Regions from separate parts of the Homo sapiens genome. Here regions 2, 3 and 4 are each linked to region 1. The links are contacts of gene promoters, found by promoter capture Hi-C in blood cells and fetal thymus (Javierre and others, 2016). All regions are on one chromosome and are shown on one strand. The core of a region is centred on a gene start or on the middle of the fragment in contact, and the rest is flanking DNA. Distances in the headings are between cores, read along the strand shown. Region 1 holds the start of CHPT1 (choline phosphotransferase 1). Region 2 has its middle 23 kb from the start of MYBPC1. Region 3 overlaps GNPTAB (N-acetylglucosamine-1-phosphate transferase subunits alpha and beta). Region 4 overlaps GNPTAB (N-acetylglucosamine-1-phosphate transferase subunits alpha and beta).

Region 1 (2,700 bases), core at 139-2,638:
CAACCTCCATGAGTCCTCCACAAGGCCTACACTCAAATGATTATAAAGGGACTTCACTATTTGGAGCAGAGAATAGAAAGTAATGTCACAGAATGTGCAATGTAATATTTATCCCACGTAGTATAAACTATAGATGGGAGTGAACTCCACTCTGCCCCCTATCCCTCCACACTCAGCCCAAAGGGTGCTTCTGATGAACAGCTATCCAAAGCCTATATTTACTCCTTATTTTGTACAAAGGTCAAATGTAATTATTGCTAATAAAATGTTGGGGTTTTTTTAATCCCTAGGTTGTGATGACAAAAAAATTATTGCCTTGATAACATTCCAGTTTGTTTTTCTTGAAAAAGTCGATGAAGCAAAGAGGAAGTTACCTCTTAACTCATCTTTGATCAGTGCTACCGGTCATTTCAAGATCACTAGCTCAACCTTCCAGAAACGAACGGTTACGAAAGTATTCAAAGGGCGTCTCGGGCTTGGCACAAGTCCCTGTGCCAGGCAGGACGGAGATGGGGGTGTTCAGTCCCCAGTGTGCAAAGCACCCGACCGCGGGTCCGTCTCACAGGTTGGCGCCGCATGGGATAGCGGCTGGGCAGGCGCCCTCCGGCCCGTCCGCGGCCGTGGGGAGGATCTGCGCGGACATAGGACCTGGGGCAGTGACCTTAACAGCCCCTCCGCTGCCCAGGGGAGGCTTGGGATGGTCACGGGATTGGGATAGTGGCGTGACAGTCTCCAGGCGGCCCAGGGCGGACACCGCCCGGGGCAGTGGCCAGTCCGCCCCTCCGGGGCCCGGGAGAGGCTCAGCCGCGCGTGGGTCCGCCCTTCCCCCGGCGCCTCCAGCGACCCGCCCGCAGCGCATCTGGGGCCCGGCTCGGGCGATCGGCCAGCCCTACCTCTTCGGTGGCCGTGGGACAGTAGGAGATGAGCACGAGCGTGGTGACCACGTTGACGGCGAGCCCCAGCAGGGTGATGGAGTTGGGGGCCATCCAGAGCGGGATCCACTGGAGCAGCCAGGTCCAGTAGAGCTGCAGCGGCGGCTCGAGCAGCGAGACGCCCGCCGCGCTGTAGCGGTGCTCCTCCAGTCGCCGCAGCTGCGCCGCGCTCAGCGGCTCGCTCAGCGCCCTCAGCCAGCGCGGCGCGGACCCGGCCCCGGCGCCTGCCGCCATGGCCGCCTGAGGGCCCCGCCGCCGCCACCGAGCGCAGCCCGCGCCTGGCGCTGGGGGCAGGGAGAGGTGGAGGGAGAGGCTGGCGGCCGGGTCCTGCGACTGCCGGGCTGGACTCACCGGTCGGGCCCGCACGGCGGAGGTCGAGGTCAGGCCGGCCTGCCCGGCTGCCGGGGCCCCAGCCCCAGAAGCTGTGGGGCCGCGGCTGCGGCTCGCGGGTGGGGCGGGGCCTCGGGGAGGGGTCCGGCTGGGGGCGGGGCGGAGGGGGTCCTGCTAGGGGCGGGGAGGCGGGTGCCGCGCTCGCGGGTCACCCTCGGCGCCCGCCAACGGCAACTTGTTATCGGCGATCAAGGTCCTTGACTCCCCAGGGGCCGGCTGCACTGCGCCTGAGGTCTGATGTCTTAACCCACGGCGTCGGATTACGCCCTGAGGTCGTCTCCTCGCGGGCTGCACCACGACCGAGCCGGTTCCTCTCCTAGGGGTCGGAACACGACTCCGGTCGCCCAGTGTTAGCCACTGCAGGACCACGCTGCCCGCAGAGCCTGGGGGTTTTCGTGTGAGAACACAGTTTTGCAGGGCTCGGGTCACGGGGGTGACGGCCCCATCTGTCCTGCTTGGTAAAACACACAAGCACAATTCTCCCTTTCTGTACGGAGGAAGGCGGCCCTGCCATGTATTCGCTCTAGAGACCCATCACTGCGGATTCAGAGACCAAGGTTTTGAAACTGAAAATCAGGGCTTAGAAACACTAACAAGGAGACCGAATGGCTGAAACCCCGATACCTATTTTCTTCAGCGCATTTGATACCAACAAGGGTGAATATTTTTACACATACTCTTCCCTGGAATAAAGGGCAGGAGTGTCCTCCCCCTGCAAGGGGGAACAGGCTGGCTTGCCACACGCATTGGTAGGTCACCGGCCCCTTATCTCACAGTGCACTCACTTGGACAGGGGACATCTGTCATAAACACGTTCTGTTGCACAACCTGAGACAGGCCTGTCACTTGCTTTGCTCTTCACTTCATGGCTCTGATCTGCACGCACTTTCTAAGGCCTAGGACAAGCCAGAAATTGCTTCCAAGACACTTGTGTGGCGCAACCTCTATCGGCAAGTGCAGTTTGCCTCACGGGCTTCGTCAAACACTTGGCACAGGGGTCCACGAACTGCTGCCTGTGTGCCAGACCCAGCCCACCACCTGTTTTCCTACAGCCCTCCAGCTAAGTATGGTTTTGACATTTTTAAATGATTGGAAAAAATCAAAAGAATACAATTTTGTGTTGTGAAATTATATGAAATTCAAAGTTCAGTGCCACGAATAAAGCCATGTTTATTCCTTACCTATTGTTTGGCTGCCTTCATGCTACAAGGGCAGCAGAATTCAGTTGTGACAGACCGTATGGCTGGCAAAGCCTGGACTATGTCCTACTAGGCCCTTTAAGGAAAAAACTGGCAACCACTGCCTTAGAGCAATGAGGGTCTCTACAGACCAAGCGTATATGTCTTAGGAATATGGATCTCCTCATCTTTAGTGTGAA
Region 2 (2,700 bases), core at 27-2,526, 130 kb after region 1:
CTTTACAAAGCGGTGATTTCATTTTTGGGGGGTATATACCCAGAAGGAGGATTTCTAGGTCATGTGGTAGTACTATTTTTAGTTTCTTTAGGAACCTTCATTCTGCTTTTTTTATATGGCTACACCAATCTGTATTCCCACCAGCAGTGTAAAAGGGTTCCCTCTCCTACACACCCTCACCAACATTTGTTATCTCTTATCTTTTTTATGATAGCCCATCCTAGCTGGTGTGAGGCGACACAGTGGTTTCGATTAGTGATGTTGAGCACATTTTCATATACCTGTCGCCCATTTTTATGTCTCTTTTGGAGAAATGTCTATTAAATCCTTTACCCATTTTAGACTTTTAAGGGCTGAATAGCTGTAGCTGATTGGTCCAGAGGAATGATTCCCACAGATGTAGCTCGCTTTATGCAATAGGGGTATTTCGAAAAGGCCACTGTAAATATAACACCATCAAACCCAATAACTTTATAATTTCAAAAGGCCTATTCTTCATTTGTGGCTGCTCATTGACACGTCAGCTTTTTTGTCAAGTTGCTAATGATCTAAAACCATCAACATTAAATACACTAAGAAAGCTGATATAAAAGGAATTCTGCACTGAACAGTTTTATGGTTACTTTTAACAGCCTAATACCAAGCTGAGCATTGTATCATATTCTGTTTATAAGTCATACTAAAAATCAGTTTTCTCTCCCATTTCCTACCAAAGTTACCATATATCTTTCGTTTAAAATCTCAAGGTACAGTAAGGTGAAATTTTAGTGTTATATCAGACAGAGAATGAACAAGCAGATTTTTTTAAAACCCAAAGTTGTAGCTAAAAAAGAAAATGTGAAAAACACCTGTAAAACAATAAAATAAAAAAAAAAGAAAATGTGTTTGCATAAATAAGGGAGCAAATAATTCTACATTATTTAATTTCTTAAATGGAAAATTCACCACTTATTTTTTTCCCAATAACAATATCATGATGTTCTTGGAGCACAGGGGTCAACCTAAATGAGAACAAAAACAAAGATATTTGTTGTTTTATTGGGCCATATCACCTAATTGTTTATGAAATATTCTTCTATAATGGACTCTAACCTTAAATGCTCTATCTGGGGTTGAAAGGGAAAGAAGAGGAGGGGAAGAAGATCTGGATTTTTTTTTTTTTTGAGATGGAGTCTCTCTCTGTTGCCCAGGCTGGAGTGGGGCAATCTCAGCTCACTGCAACCTCCGCCTCCCGGGTTCAAGAGATTCTCCTGCCTCAGCCTCCCTAGTGGCTGGGATTACAGGTGCACACCACCATGCCCGGATAATTTTTGTAGAGTCAGGGTTTCACCACATTGGCCAAGCTGGTCTCGAACTCCTAACCTCAAGTAATCCCCCCTCCTTGGCCTCCCAAAGTGCTGGGATTACAGGCATGAGCCACTGCACCCGACCAGATCTGGATTTTTTTAAAAGAACTATACTTTTGCAGGCTATGGTGATGATAAGCAAATCCCATATGTGGTGGTACAAAATCTTCCCCAGAGGACTCAAAGAATTTTCACACATGGCATAGTTGGCCAAATGTATAATAAATTTGTTATTTTTTCCTTTCCAAACATACCCAAAAGCTCGTCTTTCTTATCTACTCCGAGAAAGCCTCACATGCTTGAAATGTTCTTTGAGACAAGAACTCTGTCAGGACATATCCATATTTATAGAAAGGGCAGGCTGGGTGTGACGGCTCATGCCTGTAATCCCAGCCCTTTGGGAGGCTAAGGTGGGAGGATCACTTGAGCCTGGGAATTCAAGACCAGCCTGGGCAACATAGCGTGTAACATCTCTACATTAAAAAAAAAAAAAAATTAGCTGGCCATGGTGGCATGTGCCTACAGTCCCAGCTTCTTGGGAAGCTGAGGCAGGGGGATTGCTTGAGCCCAGGAGGTTGAGGCTGCAGTGAGCTATGATTGAACCACTGCAATCCAGCCTGGGTGACAGAGCTAGACCCTGTCTCAAAAATTAATCCACAAGTAAAATAAAAAATAAAGAATATTAAACTCTTACACTCAGCCTTTCTTTTTTAAAGAAAACTAACACCTGCACATAGAGAACAACACAAAACAAACTGATGTGTTATCACGTTTTTCCCACTTAGAGTCTGCAGTTCCTGCCTTCCTCCATGGCCATTTTAATGCACATATTTATAGTTTTAATGAAATGGACATTATGTATATATTCATCCCATCAACTTCACATATTCAAGAGTAATTTTCTTAATATAATTGACTAAAACCACTCTCAACACAAAACCTTAAAGTCCTTGCAACTCTGCAGTCCCCTCTATAAACGGAGTAAATTCAGCCAAAATATGAGTCTGATATTTTTAAGAGAAAGAAGTCATTCTGCAGATGCAGAAAACCAATTTTCTCCTCTAGAATTTCCTGGTTTCTAAAGACAGAGAAAGAGAGACACTGGTTGAGAGGCCCTCCTATGGGGGAAGATTCTTCATCCCAAAATAAACTCTTCCTGCTCAAGTTAGAGCCTCGGGCTTAAAGTATCAGCATCCTGGAACTAGAACAATACAAACATGGGATAAGGGGAATGAGAGAGGAGCATTTGTATGTGATGTGGTCATTGCCGTGTTAGTGCAGGCTCACTGACATGTTGGGAATGCAATGAAGTTAGAGGGGATTTTAGTCCATCATAAAGGAAGACTAGGTGCCA
Region 3 (2,700 bases), core at 33-2,532, 70 kb before region 1:
TAAGTTAGAGACTTATCACCGTAAACTTAGAAGTTATAAAACTCTGCAACTGTAAGTGCTAATAACACAAAACTACTTTGTCTGTAATTGTTTATGCTACCCAACCAGGCCCATTCTCCTGTTCCCCTATTGAGTTGTCTCCTCTGTATCAGACTGTAGGGCTCAAAGTTGAGCTTGTGGCTTAACAAGGGGACAAACAAGATCAATGACTGTGTGGTGCTTTTCCTGCTGACAGGTGTGCCTTGGTGCTGAGGAGTGTGAGCAAAGGAGGCTTAAATCAGATAGGATAGGGAAGAAAGCCCATCTGAATTGACATGTACTGAGAAGAACAAGTAAGAATTAGTTTAGGTTAAAAAAGACATTCCAATTAGAATATGCAAAGGCACAGAGATTTTTAAAGAGGAGTGTATTTTTTTTCAATGATTTTAAATTTGAAAAACCATGTACCCCATCACTAATTCTGAGAGCAGGTGAATGCACAGCTCAGAATGCTATGCCAGTTAATTTATCACAGGGCCTTAAGCTTGAAGAGAGAGGATATTGTCTCTCAGCCTTGAGACAAGATTATGCACAAATACACTAATGAGCTACTGATAGTTACAGAAAAGCAGTGACTGTGCATACTTCCCACCAGCTTTGACATGCTTTGGTACTTGCAGTCAAGTCTGGCATGGTGCTACTTTATTTCATAGTAGATTATCAAAGCATGTTATGAGAGACTAATCCATGAGTTGAATCCTTGTCTGCTTTCCTTGAGTAATGGAAAAAAAGTAAATACGCTCAGTAAGAACGGTCAACGCAGCAGGATCTAAACAATGACTGTAGGTACAGGCAAACTTAAAGCACTTGTGAGTGTGAACGCTGAGCCCTTTGAAAATTTTAATCTTTCTAGAGACTTAATTTCTTTTTATAAAGGGAATCTTAACTCAAGAATAAAATGTATCAGAAGCCAGAAGTCATTTTATTTTCTCTTTGGTTTTATCGTAGGTTTATTTGACATGGCCTGTGCCAAACTGTGCCGAGGGCTGCCCAGGTTCCTGGATTAAGGATGGCTATTGTGACAAGGCTTGTAATAATTCAGCCTGCGATTGGGATGGTGGGGATTGCTCTGGTAAGGATGTGTTAAACTGTAATTCGTTCATTTTTATGGAATATTTTCTTCTTAATCATTATTGAACATGTGCTATAGACTTAACCAAACATTCTTTATGTATTAATAAAGAATCAGTAATGCTGGGCATGGTGGCTCATGCTTATAATCCAGTGCTTTGCAAAGCTGAGCTGGGAGGAGTGCTTGAGGCCAGGAGTTCAAGACCAGCTTGGGCAACATAGTAAGACCCCATCTCTATCAAAAAAAATTAGCCAAGTGTGGTGGTGCAAACCTGTAGTCCTAGCTACTTGGGAGGCTAAGGCAAGAGGATCATTTGAGCCTAGGAGTTAGAGGCTGCTGTGAGCTGTGATTGCACCATTGTACTCTAACCTGGGCGGCAGAGTGACAGCCTCTCTCAAAACAAACAAATCAGTAATCAATGGACTCTTTGGAGGTGGTAATTAGTGCCCTCATGTGGCCCAGTTTATTCATTGTTGAGGGCATTGAACAAGAGAAAATACACTTGAAAATGTCTTCTTATTTAAAATATGAAAATCTGGAATACACTTATATAAATCCAAGAGCAAGAATCACTCTAACTGGTTCTTATAGGAGCTCACTGCTGGTAGCTTTCAGCAGCAGATTGTGATAGGTCACAGAATTACTAAAGAGTTGCAAAAGAAATAAGTATTTTCTCTCCTCAGCAGCTCTTCCCTCTCCCTCACATAGTTATATTTTGACTTGTTGATAATAGCAATTTGTTACATTTACTTACTACCTTTCAATTTATAAAGCATTAAATTTATAGAGCATTATTCATTATATTCACTTGAATTGTGTTTGTTACCTGAGAGAGAGAGAGAGTAAGTATGTACACAAATGTTATCATCCCCATTTCCATATGAAGAAATGGATTTGGAAATGTTTGAATATTGGAGAAAACAAAGCTTCAAGTTGTATTTCAGTCAGATATGTCAGATGCGCTTTAGCTGAGGAGAGAGAATACAGATGTGCAAAGTAGATCTGTGTAGACCAGAGAAGTCAGTCTCTACTGGAACATTAGCATTTGATAACAAGGGGTATCAAACATGTTACCCACGTTTGGACATGTTTTTGGCAGTTCTGATAGTCACAGTCTTTGGAATAATCTCTTCTTGTTTTCGTGCTCCTCCATTTCTGTCAGCACGTGCCCCTTGAGCAAATGTAAGCCCTGTACTTGTAGGTTGCACAGCTACAAAATGCCAGGGCCTGTTCATCACGCTTCTGTCAAGTGACTCCCTTTTACGTTTATTTTCTTCTTAAGGTATATGAGATCTTCTACTAAAGAATGAGGTGAACCTTTTCTGACTAAAACTTACACATCAACCTTGAAAACATCAATATGAAATAAGGAACTGTCTTTTTCGTTTTTTGTTTTTTGAGACGGAGTTTCACTCTTGTTGCCCAGGCTGGAGTGCAGTGGTGTAATCTTGGCTCAGTGCAACCTCCGCCTCCCGGGTTCAAGCAATTCTCCTGCCTCAGCCTCCCAAGTAGTTGGGATTACAGGCGCCCACCACCACGCCCAGCTAATTTTTGTGTTTTTAGCAGAGATGGGGTTTTACCATGTTGGC
Region 4 (2,700 bases), core at 54-2,553, 100 kb before region 1:
TGTATTTTTAGTAGTGATGGGGTTTCACCATGTTGGCTAGGCTGATCTTGAACTCCTGACCTCAAGTGATCCTCCCTCCACGACCTCCCAAAGTGCTGGGATTACAGGCATGAGCCATTGCACCTAGCCCTAATTTTGTTCTAAGACAAGTTTGCGGACCCAAAAGATCTCCAGGATGGCCATCCAAATTAGTTTTGATGTTCTCTATCCATTGATTTAAAATTGTTCGCAAGAGAAGACCATAATTTTTTTTTAATTAAAAAATTTTTTATAATAGGGAAAAAATAGAGACGAGGTCTCACTGTGTTGCTCAGGCTGGTCTTGAGCTCCTGGGCTCAGGCGATCCTCCCAATTCATCCTCCCAAAGTGCTAGGACTACAGGTGTGAGCCACCACACCTGGCCAAAGATAATTTTTGAACATGTAGCTAGCTGGCAGAGGTCCCAGGAGAGGGACTATGATTGCATGCTTTAGCATTTTAGGATCCCATTCTGCTTCTCATTAATCTCCCAAGAGCAAAATAAGAACCTTATAAGCCCTGTCAGGGAATGTTTGGGGTTTGGACCAGTGTCCAACAAACTCAAGTACACGTACAAGTGTATGGAAACAAGTCAGAACAAAACCAAAACCAAAAGTTCTCTCTATTGGGGTTCTCTTCTACAACGTTGGCAATTCTTTCCATAGAGTACCATGTGTAATGAGCATTAAAGATCTTTATGCCCCTCCTCTTCCCTCCCACCCCCACCCCAAATCTAGAGGCTGATTAGAGATGCTGTGTTTTGCGGCAGGTAGACCACTTCAGTGCCTTCAGTGTTGAACTCATGGGGTTCTGGGTGGCCATGGGCATTGTCCAATCAAAAGAACTTTAATAGAAGTACTTACTGGCAAGGTACTTCCTGACTTCAGAGACAATGCATCCAAGGAACCAGTCCAGTAAAAGAACTCTTGTTCAGGTTTTCTTGTTGTACAACCAAAACACTGACTGTTGGTGTTAATTTTTTTCCATCAAGCCTTGGGGGTTAGCAGCATTACAGGTAAGGAAAGCCCAACAGCATTTGCACAAAACAGTAGAGTCAGCCTGTCCCTTCCCTTCCTGCTTTAAATCCTGATGCTTGCTTCTCTTCCTTACTAATAAATGTTCTTTGTCACATTTTTCCCATGATTAAATTTCATCTGTATTAAAAACATGTTCAGGCAGATATCCTTTCTCATCGATGATTTTCTTTGGGAACTGATCTTCTGCCTTTTGGTCTGCAGGTGCATCTCCTGTTATCTTGACATTTTTAAGCCAAATCTCTTTTTAAAATGATCAAACCAGTCTTTGCTGGCATTACATTCTCCTGCTTTAGACCCTTATTGTCCTTTTGCTTTAAGTTGTTATCTAACAACTTTGCTTTTTCTTGCATTATGTTAGTCTGTAGGTATGTGTTTCTTATAGCAATTCTGGACCCACGTTAAAGCGCATTTTCAATACAAGATAAAGAGGCATTTAGCAAAAAATGCAGTTTTCTAGCTGGGAGTGACAGCTTCATAATTTTTCATTGCCTTTTTTTTTAAAAAACAATGATTCTTAGCTAAATTCTTTTGTCTTGAAATGGCCAGCAACCACCACTGCAGACCTCAATCTATGGTACGTGTCAAACCATTCAACTTTTTCTTGTAATGACATGACTTTCCTCTGCTTCTTGGGAGCACTTCCATCGGCACTAGTGGCACTTTCTAAGAGTCCCATGATGTTCTTCGCAGTTTACGGTATTGCACTAAATATGAAAAATACGTAAGAAACATGAGAGATCACTTTTTACCGCAACATGCAGTTTACTAGAGAGACAAACTGCTCACGTGGAGATAATTAGTGTCACTACAGATACTCGCAACATGTGAGCTCGCTGCAATAGTAACAGGAGATGGGTACAAAATTATTTTAGTACAGTATATACTACAGTTGATTTTATTCGGTTATGATTTATTGCTGCATTTTTATGTTTGTTTACCTCTCTCAATTGCAAACGGTACCATGTACAGTCTGTGTTTGTATAAGTTTTGATACATTTTAACTTTTTATAATATAATAGATTTGTGTAAGTTCTGGATAATGAAAACAGAAGTGGTAGGTGCAGCTTCCATGATGTCTCCTTAAAGGTGGGGCATGTCTTTCCCTTTCCTTTCTGCAGTTGGAATGAATTCTAAATGCCTGGGCCCCACAGCCCATCTGAATGTAGCAGGGCCACTTCTTAGGGGCAGTGGAATAGGATGCTGGAGGAAGCCTGGTCAGGAAGGAGGGCATGTAGAGTAGAAGGAAAGGACACACAGAAAGATTAGATAGAAGGGAATGAGCTGGCAAAGGAGATGGAAAAGGAGCCACCAGGGCGACAGGAGGGAAAACCAAGAAAACATTTCCACAAAGAGGAACTGGGCAACTGCTATGAATACTTGAGTAAGAGATGAGGAAAATGCCGTTGAGTTTGACAATGTGGGGGCCTTGGTAAGGCCACTAAAGTGGTGAAAACATAAGTGATACTGGAGTGAGCTGAAGGGTGAGTGGGAAAGCAGGAGATGACCTTGAAAGGGACAGAAAATGTGGGGTAGAGGGACTCACTGGAATGGATATGGAGTGAAGGGAAGGTGTTCCCAAGGTACGGGAACATGTTTGCGTGCCAATGGGAATAATCCTACTGAAAGGAAAAGAGAGGCAAGGTCT

The links. The method cuts DNA at HindIII sites, captures the fragments that hold promoters and counts their contacts. A CHiCAGO score of 5 or more calls a contact.
Region 2: a contact is called between a fragment that was not itself captured here and the fragment with the promoter of CHPT1 in region 1, in 4 of 17 cell types (total B cells, naive B cells, M0 macrophages and 1 more). The highest score is 10.7, in total B cells.
Region 3: a contact is called between a fragment that was not itself captured here and the fragment with the promoter of CHPT1 in region 1, in 3 of 17 cell types (total B cells, naive B cells and neutrophils). The highest score is 9.2, in total B cells.
Region 4: a fragment that was not itself captured here is called in contact with the fragment with the promoter of CHPT1 in region 1 in 1 of 17 cell types (neutrophils); the score reaches 5.5 in neutrophils.

Annotation. Positions count from the first base shown.
Region 1 is chr12:101,696,328-101,699,027 of GRCh38, reverse strand. CHPT1 (choline phosphotransferase 1) reads right to left here and starts at 1,388. Exons shown (of 9, transcript NM_020244.3): 1 at 894-1,388. The coding sequence starts at 1,166. RefSeq lists silencers at 655-844, 1,105-1,444 and an enhancer at 1,665-1,914. The HindIII fragment of the contact is 18,657 bases long and covers 1-2,700 here.
Region 2 is chr12:101,570,190-101,572,889 of GRCh38, reverse strand. No RefSeq gene overlaps it. Among named protein-coding and RNA genes, the nearest start is that of MYBPC1, 23 kb to the left of the region's middle. The HindIII fragment of the contact is 4,032 bases long and covers 1-2,700 here.
Region 3 is chr12:101,766,448-101,769,147 of GRCh38, reverse strand. GNPTAB (N-acetylglucosamine-1-phosphate transferase subunits alpha and beta) reads left to right here. Exons shown (of 21, transcript NM_024312.5): 11 at 988-1,111. Among named protein-coding and RNA genes, the nearest start is that of SYCP3, 28 kb to the right of the region's middle. RefSeq lists a cis regulatory region at 1,562 and an enhancer at 1,478-1,647. The HindIII fragment of the contact is 1,514 bases long and covers 526-2,039 here.
Region 4 is chr12:101,797,906-101,800,605 of GRCh38, reverse strand. The region is part of intron 1 of GNPTAB (N-acetylglucosamine-1-phosphate transferase subunits alpha and beta); the gene reads left to right. Among named protein-coding and RNA genes, the nearest start is that of GNPTAB, 32 kb to the left of the region's middle. The HindIII fragment of the contact is 3,127 bases long and covers 1-2,700 here.